Regions from separate parts of the Homo sapiens genome. Here region 2 is linked to region 1. The links are contacts of gene promoters, found by promoter capture Hi-C in human tissues and cell types (Jung and others, 2019). All regions are on one chromosome and are shown on one strand. The core of a region is centred on a gene start or on the middle of the fragment in contact, and the rest is flanking DNA. Distances in the headings are between cores, read along the strand shown. Region 1 holds the start of LOC105372773 (a long non-coding RNA gene). Region 2 holds the start of KRTAP19-2 (keratin associated protein 19-2).

What was found. Contacts are between HindIII fragments. The study calls those that stand out against the background at their distance.
Region 2: the fragment with the promoter of KRTAP19-2 here is called in contact with a fragment that was not itself captured in region 1 in 1 of the 25 tissues and cell types used here (H1 embryonic stem cells).

The regions. Positions count from the first base shown.
Region 1 is chr21:30,720,053-30,727,167 of GRCh38, reverse strand. It overlaps LOC105372773 (a long non-coding RNA gene), which reads left to right and starts at 1,422. Exons shown (of 3, transcript XR_937655.3): 1 at 1,422-1,651; 2 at 4,892-5,068. The HindIII fragment of the contact is 3,137 bases long and covers 1-2,960 here.
Region 2 is chr21:30,486,143-30,493,728 of GRCh38, reverse strand. It overlaps KRTAP19-2 (keratin associated protein 19-2), which reads left to right and starts at 6,293. Exons shown (of 1, transcript NM_181608.2): 1 at 6,293-6,686. The coding sequence starts at 6,381. The coding sequence ends at 6,539. It overlaps KRTAP19-3 (keratin associated protein 19-3), which reads left to right and starts at 1,716. Exons shown (of 1, transcript NM_181609.4): 1 at 1,716-2,267. The coding sequence starts at 1,772. The coding sequence ends at 2,017. The HindIII fragment of the contact is 4,878 bases long and covers 5,576-7,586 here.

The sequences.
Region 1 (7,115 bases), core at 143-2,642:
TATTAAAAATAAATAATAAATTTCTCAAGGGTATTGGTTATAAATAAATACACCAAAATAAATACCAATAAAATCTCGTAGTGAATAGACTGGAAACAGGATGAAGTCAAGACAGCAGACTCTTCACTCATTTATTTTATAGCTATGGTTCTCCAGTTTCAGCATGCATAAGAATCACTGGAGACTGTGCTGAAACAGATTTCTGGGCCTCAGACATGCTGATTCCAGAGATGCTGATTCAGTTTTTCTGGGTGGGGCTTGAGAATTTGCCTTTCTAACAAGTTTACAGTGATCCTAATGCTGCTGGTTCCTGGACTATTTTTGAATAGCCTACAACTCTGTGAAGTTGAAGTCCTATCCAGCCATGTTTCACAAAAAAGCAAGCCTTGCCAAATCTTCAATACCCTTTCATGTGTGCTATCCCAGTGAAGTACACCTTCACCTCCTGAAGCCCACTCCCTCACTGGGACTTCGTAATCCAGCATTCATCTGTTTCCCACATTCACCTCTAAGTTCTGGAAGAAAACATTCACCCGTTTTCCAATTCTACCTCTAAGTTTTGGAAGAAACATGGGTCCTCCTGTTTCTTCCAAAACTTAGAAGTAGTTAGAGAACAAAGGTAAAACTCCACCATCAACCCTAATTCAATGTCATTGCCATTCCTAAAACTTAAAAGGAAGAGAAGATGGAAAAGAAAAGATAAGGAATAGAGAAAACAGATCAGAGAAGCTGAAAGGAAAGCCTCCAATGCAGCCACGCCATTGTTGGAGATGGTTTTTACCTGTAAGTTTCTCAGCCTTGCAGCATCCACTCCCCATGCCTTTCAATCCCCTTGTACCTACTCATTGCTTTTCTCAGATATTGTGCTTTCAGACTGATTTGATTTCAGATTCATTGCTTTTCTCAGATATTGCACTTTCAGATTTATTTGAAGCTTTCCTTTATTTAGAGCAGTGACTCAAATCCGAATGCATGTCAGATTCCATTAAATGGCAATACCTGAGTCCCACCTTTGAGATTTTGGTTTTATTGGTCTGAGATGGGAGTACTGGCATTTTATTAAAGTTTTCCCACGAAATACAATGCACATCCATGATTGAGAAGATATCCCTATCACCTCAAAGTTGGCTAAGAATTGTGCCCCAGACCACAGAAGTGAGAATTTTCCCCAAATTGCCAAACCATCTTTCTTTTCTTCCACCTGGAAATGTGTACTTTCCATTTGATTGAGATTAAAGTTCAAAAGTATCTCTGTAGTTAAATTTGTGTGGAGAATGCAAATTATAACAATGACTGAGGATTCAGGCAGTTCAGCTTCTGACTTACGGTTGATGACTGATTTTATGCGTCAACTTGGCTAAGCTACAAAGACCAAATGTTTGGTCGAACACCAGTCTAAAGGTTGCTATGATGATATTTTTCAGATAAGGTTGGCATTTAATCAGCAGACTTGAGAAAAGTCACGTACCTTCCATAATGTGGGTGAGCTTCCTCCAGGCAGTTGAGGGCCTTAAGAGAAAAGGGTGATGTCTACCAGAGGAAGAGGGAAATCTGCCTTCAACCTGAGTTCACATTCAAGTTGCAAGATCAGCTCTTCCCTGGGTCTCCAGCCTGCTCAGCAGATTTTGATTTTGCTAGCCCCTACAATCATGTGAGCCAATGCTTTAAAATCTGCCTCTTCTCTCGCTCTGTCTCTCTGTATCCCTCCCTCCCTTTCTCTCTCTCTCTCTTTATTGTCCCCCAATTTCTCTCCCTCTCCTTGCTTCTCTCTCTTCTCTCTCTCCCCGCTTATCTCCCTTCTGGCCTCTCTCCTCTCTACTCCTCCTCCTTTTCTCCCTCCCCACTTTTCTCTCTCTTTTCTCTCCCTCTCTACTCTCCTCTTTCTCTCTCCCCCTCACTCTCCCTCTTTTTTCTCTCTCCTCCCTCTCTTTCCCTTTCTCTCCTCTCTCTCTCATTCCTCTTTGCCTCTCTCTCCCTCACTCTTCCACCTCTTCCTTCTCTCTCTCTCTCTGTGTGTGTGTGTGTGTGTGTGTGTATGTATGTATTTCCTTCATGCATCCTGTAGGTATGTGTATACACATACTTACATGTAGACACACACATCCTACTGTTATTTTTTCTTGGGAGGACCGTAACACACCATTGAACTAGGTGGAAGTGAGATTAACTGCTAAGGCCCTGGGGTTTATGGCTTCCCTTTGGGTAACTTTGTCCCCTGAACAGAATACAGATCAACATTGAGTCCCCTGAATTTCTCTTAAACCTGAGCATGAGATAGTCTCTCTAGGGTCCTCAGCTCGAGTCTGTGATCTCTGTTCCTTATCTCACCCCTATTCAGAGCTGGTAAGATATGCATAAAAGATGGTGGATGATAAACTTAAAATCTAACATTTGGGTTCTAAAACCTTTACAAATATTCAGACTTATGTAGCAGCTAGATGATTGAGCTTTCCACAATAACCTCTGCACTTTAGATTCCAGTTTCAGAACTGCACATTAAACCAATTTTGGCGGAGGGTACAAGGCAAATGTTAGATAAAACATGGAATATTAACCTTCACAGCAAAACCTTTTAGATTCATTTAGATAACTGATTGCTCAAATAGCCTGTTTCCATTATTGTCTAAGCTTTGTGAATCACAGAAAGTACACTGCTAATCACCACTTGTCTGGTTTTAAACAGGTCAGAATGTCCTCAAAAATAAAAGCTCAGTAAGCCATTAACCTTTTGTGTTGGCCACTGCTATTTTATCTAGAGACCTTGTTATGAGGACAAGACGATTGATCTATGGCAGTGGTTCTGAAATGATAGTGTGTATTAAATTAACCAGAGTGCTTGAAAAACATAGAGTTTTTGGGTCCTACTCCTAGACCTTCTGATTTAGTAGGTTTTGGGTAGAACCTCAAAATCTGCAATTTTAACAAATTCCCAAGTGATGCTGATAACTGCTGATCCATACACTCCACTTTTAGAAACTCTAACTCTTAAAAATTGCAGTGGAGCAAATGAATTAATGGAAAATATATTTTTTCACCTGGGTTCAGTAGGTGATCAACAGGGATTTATCGAGCACTTAATATGTGTTTGGTCAGCACCATGATAGTGTTGTGTAGATGAGAATAGTTGCTGAGATCAAAGAACTAACCATCCATTTGGAAGATCAAGACTAACATACCTATTTGTAGAAAAGAACAAAACTTGAGATATAACAGCTTATGTGTCACAGATGAAAAGACTGGCAGGAGTTCATAGGAAAGGAAGATAATGAGGACTCCGGGAACTGCAGAAAGCTTCTGTCGAAGGGGAAATGAACTGGGCTTGGAAGAACTGCATTAATAGATTAGAAAATCAGAAATTCAAGGTGGGAGAGTCACTGGGGACAGAGGCAGAATGGGCATTAAATCGGCTGTTTAGGGGAAATGGTTGGTGTCTTGCACATGAATGTATTTAACAAATAATGTGATGATTACCATGACTTAGAGTGGTAAACAGATTTGGAATGGTTAGGGGAAGAGGTATATTATGAGAGATCTGTGAGCCCAGGCAGAGGATATAGAATTAGCACAGTAGGAGATTCAGAATATTAAGCAGAAGAAATGCATGATAAAAGTAATATGTAGGAAATATAAATTTAGAAACAATGTGCAGAATAGGTTGGACAGTGTGGAAACGAAAGATGCATTGAGTTCCTGGAGCTAAGGACTTATTGGGGTGGGGGGGTCCAAGAGTGAGAAGATTAGGACCAGAATTAAGCCTGTTGCAGTAAGAGTAAGAAAATAGATACCAAAATTTTGTATGGAAAATGATTTGTTTCAGTGACATAAACAAATGCATAAATGTGGTACTTTTGAATGTGGGTATTCATCAAGAAAGGAAATGTTATTAACAGGGAGAAATATTTTTAAAATTTAGTTTTGCCAGAGAGATGTATCTGGTTTTGGATATGTTGATTTGAGGTAATAATACATTCAAAAAAATTATCTAGCTAAGATTTGTATATTTAAGGAGAGTACACGACATATCAATTTGAAAGTAACTGATATTAATTTTTTATTTAAAGCTGTAAATGTGAGAGAAAATATTTACTCACACACATTTATTCCTTAAGTTTTAATGGATCACTTTCTGTAAGTCAGACATTGTAGTGGGAGTACAAATGGGAAATTAATAAGAGAATTTAGAGAGAGAAAGTCAAGGAATTGAATCTAGGAAGGGCTCCTTAGTTAGAGTTTGGGTAGAGTCAGAGGAATAAATGAAGAAAACACATGAAAGGTACAGTTGTAAAAAGAGAATGAGGATGGTGTTGAAAAGGGTTGGAAGTAGAGGAAATGATACCTTGTGGCAGCAGAGGTCAACGATAACCATGGAGAAGAAATGTGACTGGCATTGGCAAAAGAAAACATTAAAAATCTCTTAGGGAAGAGTAGGCAGAAGAAGGGAGTAGATTTGAAGAGACTGATGAAGATAGAGCCATAGAGCAATAAAAGTAGAAACAAGTTAGGATACCACGTTGGTGGAGAGCTAATAATTTGAAGGAAGAAAAAAATACCTCATCTTCTGAGACTGAAGGGAAAACACAACAGAAATATGACTTATTTTCAATACAATCTTTTTTTCAAAATTAAACATATATTTTTACATAAATCTATAATGATTAAATATTTTTTGCATATAATCTACTCTTATAAATTATATATGCATTTAAATGTGAACATTAAATGGATGCTGACTTTGAACTAAAGGTATTTCTATTAATATTATCACCGTATTTAATTTTTACATGAATATTTTGGAGAATGAGATAAATTAAATCTAACAAAGTGAATTATAAAATATCTAGTAGAATAATAAATTGCTTATTTTCTTCTTTCTATTTAAAAAAATTTGCAGGCAAATGAATGTGAACATTCACATTTTCTTTCCCCTGACGTAGAGAAATCTTCATGAGGATGGAGAACATAGGAGTTAAGCCACTTTCAGAGGTGGGAATGGAAATTTTCAGATTTGATGATGTTCCAGGTAGAGAAATAACACCATTGATTCAAGAAAGAAAAATGGGCCTAAAAGGTCAGTAGTATATTTGGTAAGAAGTAGAAAATAGCTGGGGGAAGAATATGAAACTTAATTTTACCATCACATATTTTGGAAATTTATTGGTGATTTTACAGAGAGGGCTATTATGGTCAAAGACATAGTTGTATACTTTACAAATGAAGGCTAGGGGTATACAAATTCCGAATTTTACTTAAAGTGGCACAGGGTCATCACTGCTATTAACATGAGACCTTAGCTGAGAAAATGAAAGGGAAAATATGGGAAAGATGAATAAATTTGCAATAAATTTTGCATTTGACTTAATGTGGTGAATTTTTACTAATGAAAAGCTGAAAATAATTACATAATATGTCATCAATAATCGGGAAATTAAGCAGAAACAAATTTTCAGAATACGAATGAATTCTTATATGGTTAGGAAATACTTTTCAGAGCAACTCAGCATTTTTGGGTCAAGAGAAAAATAGCAACCACAATTCCTTACAGTCACATGAAAGTCAAAAGTCTGAAAAGGAACAGATACTTAAGTGTATGAAATGATAGAAAAAAAAATCCACAATAAAATACATATTGCAGTTCTAATTTCCCTGTACAAAGTAAGATGCTTGCAGGGGTATAGAATGTACAGAGCAAAATATAAAACAAAAAATAAAAATAATAACAAGGTTCTCACTTTTAAAGAGACTGCATATATTAAAATAGGTAACATGAGACATATATGCAAAGAAACACATGATACATCATAATACGGATAATTTGCAGCAAAAGATGGTTCAAATAAAGTATCAATTAAAAACATTTTTTTTAGAAAGATGATCTCACTCTGTCACCCAGGCTAGAGTGCAGTGGTCTGATCATAGGTCACTGCAGCCTCAAATTCCTGGGCTTAAGGGATCCTCCCACCTCAGCCTCCTGAGTAGCTGGGACTATAGGCATGTGCCACCACATTCTGCTAATTTATTTTATTTTATTTTGTAGAGACAGGGTCTCATTATGTTGCCCAGGCTAGTCTGGAACTCATGCCCTTAAGTAATCCTCCTGCCTTAGCCTCCCAAAGTGGTGAAGTTACAGGTGTGAGCCACTGTGCTCAGGTACCAAATTTTAGAAGCTTTTTTCAGATTGTCTAAGATTCAATCCTCACTGAGCATCTTAAATATAGATTTTCAACTCTCATGGGCAAGAAAATACCATATTTAGGTTGAGTTGAGACTAATTTTGTAATTGAGTCCCATCAAAGGTTTATTTTCAAAATATTCAGTTTAATCTAGGCAAAACTGCTTACCCAATGGTTATTTTAAAAGATGACCTTCGAGACCATCCTGGCTAACAAGGTGAAACCCCGTCTCTACTAAAAATACAAAAAATTAGCCGGGCGCGGTGGCAGGCGCCTGTAGTCCCAGCTACTGGGGAGGCTGAGGCAGGAGAATGGCGTGAACCCGGGAAGCGGAGCTTGCAGTGAGCCGAGATTGCGCCACTGCAGTCCGCAGTCCGGCCTGGGCGACAGAGCGAGACTCCGTCTCAAAAAAAAAAAAAAAAAAAAAAAAAAGATGACCTGTTTGACTTAATGTGGCCTATTTGCTTGTGCTGTATAAAAACGCCAACAGTCTCTTTAGTGATTTGGAAACTTGAACACTCATAAGATTTTCATATTTGAACATATACTCTAAGACGATAACTTTCAAAAGAACTTAAAAGTTATTTCTCAACTTAAAAAGTTATTTTGTTACACAAATATGTTAGTTTATTGAAGAATGTCAAGCTGGTTTTCTTTACACAGTTGTCCTCCTAAGGATAATTAAAATGCTATCATGGCGTTCCAGTTTGTACTCCTACTACAATACCTGGCATTTAGGTGCAAGTAAAACTTACAGCGCATATGTAAATTGTGAATACTCTGAAGGTGTTTTTATTTTATAGTGTTTGATAGCACATTTTAAAATCTTGGAAACTCTATTTCTTGGAATACATTTTAATACCTCCCAGTCCTAGTGTTCCTGGAAACATAATTGGAAAATAAAATGCCACAAATTCAATGCAACCATGGCTAGTGCTCAAGGAA
Region 2 (7,586 bases), core at 5,044-7,543, 240 kb after region 1:
AATTGCTTATAAACTCATCAAAAGCTTAACAGTATATTCAAAGTAATAAAAATTAAACAAGAAATTATATATTTAAGCTTAAAGTTAAGGGCATATGTGGGTGGGGTTTGGGGTCAGCCTTGGGTCTAGGTGACTAAATTCTTAGAGTCAGCTGAGGTACTCTTTGTCTTTAATTATTATTTCCTTCATCCTGTCTTTTTATATTATACATATTTTTAGGGGATTCCTAAGACATTCACAATGCTAACAGTCTCTTACTGAATTCCCCAGGGTCTTTGGCGATGGCATCTATTAACATCTAACACTTTAATAAATACCTAACATCTTAGTAAAGCTTAGTTAGCTATTTTCTTTTAGGAAAAAAAAGAAACACACAATAGGTAAAGGTAACATAAAGGCAAAAATATCTGAAAAATCGAAGATTTTATTTATATATATATATGAATTTAAGTAAGTATTAAATGAAAATGGATGGGAGGCAAAAAGAATTGCATATATTTCACCATCTCACCTAGTCCCAGACCCTAATGGGAACTGAAAGAATATATTGAAAAGAGGAGGCCGGGCGCTGTGGCTCATGCCTGTAATCCCAGCACTGTGGGAGGCCGAGACGGGTGGATCACGAGGTCAGGAGATCGAGACCATCCGGGCTAACACGGTGAAACCCCGTCTCTACTAAAAATACAAAAAAAAATTAGCCGGGCGTGGTGGCGGGTGCCTGTAGTCCCAGCTAATCCGGAGGCTGAGGCCGGAGAATGGCGTGAACCCGGGTGGTGGAGCTTGCAGTGAGCCGAGACAGCGCCACTGCACTCCAGCCTGGGCGAAAGAGCGAGATTCTGTCTCAGAAAAAAAAAAAAAAAGAAAAGAAAAGAGGATAATTGTGTGGATCAGGAAAAAGGAATGAATGGGAGGAGGGCAATACAATCTGTATTTTTGGTAGCACCTTGGATGTCTAATATGCCAGTAAGGGAGTCGGGATGTGAAAACAATTTTGAACAGTTTGTAAAGCTGCTTAGGAAATAGATTTTTGATTACTGTGATTTGACTTTAATGTTTGAGCAATATACTGTTGTGTTGTTAAATCAAAATGGTTTTTATTTTTTAAACGAGTAAAACCAAAAAAAGAGAATATTGGTTATGATGGCCAATGTTCTAGAGTAATAGAAGAATGATGGCTTTATTTTAACTTTTTTAACCCCATGAAATTCTTTACTGTTAGGCATAGCAGGTGAGCAGATGGCTCCAGTCTTTCAAATGTTTGCTTCTCTTTAAAAAGGGACCTCACCTGAGGTAATAGATACCTCTGGAAGAATATAATAAATTTCAGAGCATTGAATTTAACCAAAGTCTGTTATTTAATCATAAATGAGTAAAACAATTCAAGGAAAGCCAGAGATGAAGCAATATTTAATTTCAAAACATAGCATTACCAACTATGTAATGCAATATGCCTACGAAGAAGTCTATTTAAGGTCTGGTATGCACAGACTTTGAAGCTACAGCAATTTCTTCTCATAAAAGTGATGCAATATGTTAAAGGGACAGCATGAGAAGACAGCAATGCAAGCTCAAACACTTTAATGAGTTTGAGGGCCTCTTCAGATGTCAGGATTGGGTCAGGTAAGTGTAACATACACAACTACACTAAAATAGGCAGCAAGTGTTTTGTTACGTGATGTGTCAGGGTATATAAGCATGCCTGCACAGATGTCAACATTCACACTCAGGACCTTGCCTTGAGCAGCAAACCAAACTCACTACCCCTGACACCATGAGCTACTACGGCAGCTACTATGGAGGCCTGGGCTATGGCTGTGGAGGCTTTGGTGGCCTGGGCTATGGCTATGGCTGTGGATGTGGCAGCTTCCGCAGACTGGGTTCTGGCTGTGGCTATGGAGGCTACGGATATGGCTCTGGCTTTGGAGGCTATGGATATGGCTCTGGCTTCGGAGGCTACGGATATGGCTGCTACCGCCCATCATACTATGGAGGATATGGATTCTCTGGATTCTATTAAACTACTGCCCCAGCAACACAATGTGTGAAATTATAAGAGGACTTTCCCAGAGCTGACTTCAATCATTGGACAACAAAGATCATGCTGGAGCTATTTGCACAAAAGAATTTAACATCTCAGAATTTCAGGCAATTTTTTTTCTCTGTATACCCACATCTCTATAATAATCCTAGTATTCTCTACTTTTGCTTTTAAAGCTGATTGAATTATCTGTTTATCTTCCAATAAAACATTCTATTTTCAAACACAATATGGTTCTGTTTTGTTCATGAAACTCAATTATACGTAAGTGATGATGTCAATGAGAGAAGCTATCTCCTTGGTTGAGAATCTATGTTTTTTCATATACCTCATAAACATGCATGCAGATAGATAAATACATCGATAGCTCCAAAGAAGAATAATTCTAGATTGAAATGAAAAGAACTGCAAAATGGTTAGTAATCTGATATTTTTCAACATTTTCCTTTTATTTAGATAGTATTCAGATTTAAGTCAACAACAAAAAGGAATACCTACTAAACATGTCTTTATATTTATATATCAAGCATATATGTTTTATTTAATTCAGATCACATTTGTCAACTCACTCTGAATGTGTAATGAATTCTTCTATCCATTCAAAATTTCTTTCTTTTTATTGTAAGAGCAAGCAAATGGTGACAGATCAAATGATATTCCTAGGTTAATTATGAAAGTGTATTTTCTTTCCAAGAATTATTGTAATTGGTATAACCTCACCCTATCATACTCTTCTGTCCATTAATTTATTTGACATTTTCATTGAACAACTGATGTACATAACTATTAAATTAGTATAGAATTTTTTTTCATATTGGATTAACATATTTAACTCAAAATATTTTAGATAATTTTTTCAGCTAGCTTTTCTATTATCTTACTTGGTCTTCATGGTATGATATGGCAAAGTCATGGCATGATATAGCAAAGTTATCATTTGGCCAGTAGAAAACTTTATTTTCATTATTTCACACACCAACACAGGATCTGAGTTTCACAATTAACTCATGATCTTCCTGGAAAAATATCCCCAAAATAGCATAACAGAGAAATAATTGTGCAAGTCATTGAGTCCACTGAATTAAGAGAAAAAAATTGAAAAATAAACATTTCTCAGTTTCCAAAGTTAATCGCTATCCAAAAGATACTATAATTGTTCTACTTTTCAATTAGGAAAAAAAGCAGAAGTATTTGATTGTTTTGGTTCATATCTTTCACAGCATTATATGATCATATATGTGCATGTATATATATGTGTGTATTTGTGTATCACAATGAAGTATATCTTATTATTTTGTTATTTGAAAATACATAAGAAAAGCAGGGCATATTTTATTAAATATATTTTATTTGTAATAAATAATAAAATTTGCCTTTAATTTGTAAAATCTATTGGATTATATTTCTCTTGGAGATGGTTATATGCATCGGAAATAGCAATGTACATTAGCCTTTCATGAGGGTTAGAAAATCTTGCAGGTTTACCCAATAATTCATGAGATTCTTAAAGTAGTTAGACTTACTTATTATTGTTTGTCTTCAACAACTACTCATTGAGAATTTAAACATTGTCCAGTTTTCTTTTTCAGAACGAAAATAAAGGTGGAATTAATTTTGATAAAGGAGAAAACAACCATGGCAAATATTGAGTTAAATATTCATTTAAAACCTGAAAGCCATTTTGAGTGCATATTCCACCTTAGATATGCACTACATGTTGAGGCAGGCAAAATTCATTCTTTCATTTATCCAACAAATTTTTTGGAAGAATAGTGAACAAATCAAGTTGAGAAAACGCATTATCAAAAATGTTGCTTATAGACCTCAAAACAAAGCAAAACAGAAAACAAAACAACAAAAAATACTCTTGGCAAAATGTTTAAAGTCTTGTAAAGCAAAGTATTGCTTAAGGACCCAAATCCAATATATGGTCATATTTTGGTGGAGCTAAACTTGGGATTGATTTACTATCTTCCTAGAGTAAGCACAGAAAATCTGTGGAGCATGGCCAGCCCTCCTCACATCCTTGCTTCCTATCTCAGTTATTTCACCACTGCACATTCGCATTTGAGATTTTCAAGGCATCAGAATTTTAAGAGACTGTTAGATGTATTATATGACTCTAAGAGTCATATAAAATATTGTTTAAAAATGTATAACCTTAATAAATAAATAATGTCTTATGTTTGCTGGTTGAGAGAAAGTAGGAAGATGAGGCACACAGAATTGGAAAAGAAAACATAAGGACAAAAATATTGTGATAAAATTAAATATATGGGTAGAAGGGTAAAATACTGATTAGAAAAAAATGGATAAGAAGAAATACCTGCTTGGCACTAGTACATATTGGGAATGAATGCAGCATAAAATGAAAAGCTTTGATAAAGAGAACTGATATATACATAGTGAGGAAGAGTAGGAAGTGGAAGAAAAGTGGTATCTGTAAAGCATGAAGCCAAGCTCATCTGAGTTTCTAGGTAATACTTTATTTAGAGCCAGTTCTGGAAAATTGTGTAACGATAAAAATAGACTTGATTGTTTTCGTGTGTGTGTGTGTGTGTGTGTGTGTATGTGTCTGTTTTAGACAGTTTCACTCTGTTACCCAGGCTGGAGCGCAGTGGCATGATCATGGCTCACTGCAGCATTGACCTCCCAGGGATCAAACAATCCTCCTGCCTTTGCCTCCCGAGTAGCTGGAACCACAGGTGTGCACCTCACACCTGGCTATTTTTTGATTTTTTGGTGGAGACAAGGTCTCCCTATGTTGCCCAGGCTACTCTCAAACTCCTGGTGATATAGTTTGGCCATGTCCCCATCCGAATCTCAACTTGAATTGTATCTCCCAGAATTCCCATGTGTTGTGGGAGGGATCCAGGTGGAAGTAATTGAATCATGAGGGCTGGTCTTTCCCTTGTTATTCTCATGATAGTGAGTAAGTCTCATGAGATCCGATGGGTTTATCAGGGGTTTCCGCTTTTGCTTCTTTCTCATTTTCTCTTGCCGCCACCATGTAAGAAGTACCTTTCACCTCCTGCCATGATTCTGAGGCCTCCAGAGCCATGTGGAACTGTAAGTCCAATTAAACCTATTTTTCTTCCCAGTCTCAGGTATGTCTTTATCAGCAGTGTGAAAACAAACTAATATACCTGATCTCAAGTGATCTTCTCACCTTGGCCTCCAGAATTACAGGGGTGAGCCACTGTGCCCCACCTGAAGAGAATATCTTTGAACTGCTGTTCAGGCTGGTGTAAAACTGAGTTTATTCTCTTGGATAATATATCAGTTTCTGGAATAAATTTTGTTACATTGATAAGCCAAAACAATGTTTTGCAAGCTGATATAGAAAATTAAAGTAGTTTTATATTATGTCTACATACATATTTTCCATTACTTTGTGTTTACCACAGCTGATAAGAAAATTTATTTATTCAAAAACTTCCTTTTCTTTTGAAGGAGGAATAGCCTTAATTTCTCAACGCAATAAAAATATTTGATATTTGAAGGCTTTACTAGATTTAAAAGTTTTAAACTTGATCGATTTATTTGAATCTAGGTGGAGGTAAAATAGAACAATCTAAGGAATGGTGTAAAAATGAGAAATGAGAAAACATTTAATAAAAACACAGTGTCAAATACAAATAATTCAATATGCATAGTGATGAAGAATTTAGGATTTTTTAAAAATTGTGTAACTTTGAAGATGCAGACTATTTTATCATTAAAAAGAATGTATCAGCTGGGCGCAGTGGCGCAAGCCTGTAATGCCAGCACTTTGGGAAGCCAAGGTGTGTGGATCACCTGAAGTCAGGAGTTCGAGACCAGCCTGGCCAACATGGTGAAACCCTGTCTCTACTAAAAATATAAAAATTAGCTGAGAGTGGTGGCAGACACCTGTAATCCCAGCTACTCAGGAGGCTGGGGCAGGAGAATCACTTGAACCCAGGAGGTGGAGTTTATAGTGAGCTGAAATCACAACATTGCACTCCAGCCTGGGTGACAAGAGCAAGACTCCATCTTAAAAAAAAAATGTAATAAGTTCAAGGGCATTCTAACCATGCAGCTAAGCCAGCTCAAAGATTTTAATGAGTTTGTGTCTCTCCTTGTGCTAACAAACAGATTGATTATTTGTATAGAGTAGATAAATAAATTGGGATGCTGCAAAAGGATGGCCACATGTTTATCACATGTTCTGCTCAGGGTATATAAGCGTTCCCTAAACATGCTATATTCACACTCAGGACCTTGCCTGGGACAGCAAACCCAACTCACTATCTCTGACACCGTGAGCTACTAGGGCAGCTACTGTGGAGGTCTGGGCTATGGCTGTGGAGGCTTTGGTGGCATGTGCTATGGCTACGGCTGTGGATGTGGCAGCTTCTGCAGACTGGGCTATGGCTGCGGCTATGAAGGATGCAGATATGGTTGTGGCCACAGAGGCTGTGGAGATGGCTGCTGCTGCCCATCATGCTACAGAAGATATAGATTCACTGGCTTCTACTAAGCTGCTGCTCTAGTGATGCAGCATCTGTTATTTTGAAGGGATTTAAAAACAAGTTACTTACTTCTAAGATACAATGGGGGTAAAGGTGTAAATGTGTAAATGCTCCCATTCCAAAGGGAGAAATTGACCAAAACAAAGGGGCTATAAGACCCCAAACAAGTCCAAAACCCAGCAGGGCAGTCATTAAATATTAAAGCTTCAAAATAATCTCCTTTTACTGCATGTCTCACACCCAGGCCACATCGATGCAATGGGTAGACTCCCAGGGCATTGGGCAGCTCCACTTCTGTGGCTCTGCAGGGTATAGTTCTCCTGGCTGCTTTCACAGGCTTGCATTGAGTATCTGCAGCTTTTCCTGGCACACAGTGGAAGCTGTCTGTGGATCTACCATTCTGGGGTCTGGAGGATGGTGACCCTCTTCTCAGAGCTCCACTAGGCAGTGTCTCAGTAGGGACTCTGGGTGGGGGCTCTAAACCCACATTTCCCCTCCACATTGCCCTAGTAGAGGTTTTCCATGAGGGCTCCACACTTGTAGCAGACTTCTGCCTGGAAATCTAGGTATTTTCTTACTCCCTCTGAAATCTAGGCAGGAGCTCCCAAGCCTCAACTCTTGCCCTCTGTGCACCCACAGGCTTAACACCATGTGAAAACCTTGGCAGCTCCTCGCTTGCACACTTGGGAACATCAGCCTGAGATGTATCTGGAGCCCTTTTACCGATGGCTGGAGCTTGAGTGTCTGGGACTCAGGGCAACATGTCCCAAGGCTGCACAGAGCAGTGGGTCCTTGGGCCTGGCCAACAAAATCATTTTTCCCTCCTAGGCCTCCAGGCCTGTGGTGAAAGGGCTGCTGCAATGGTCTCTGAAATGACTTGGAGGCATTTTTCCATTGTCTTGGCTATTAACATTTGGCTCCTCTCTACTTATGCAAATTTCTGCAGCAGGCTTGAATTTCTCCCCAAACAATGAGATTTCATTTTCTATGACATGGCTGGGCTGCAAATTTTCCAAACTTTTATGCTATGTTTCCCTTTTATGCTCTGGAAATAT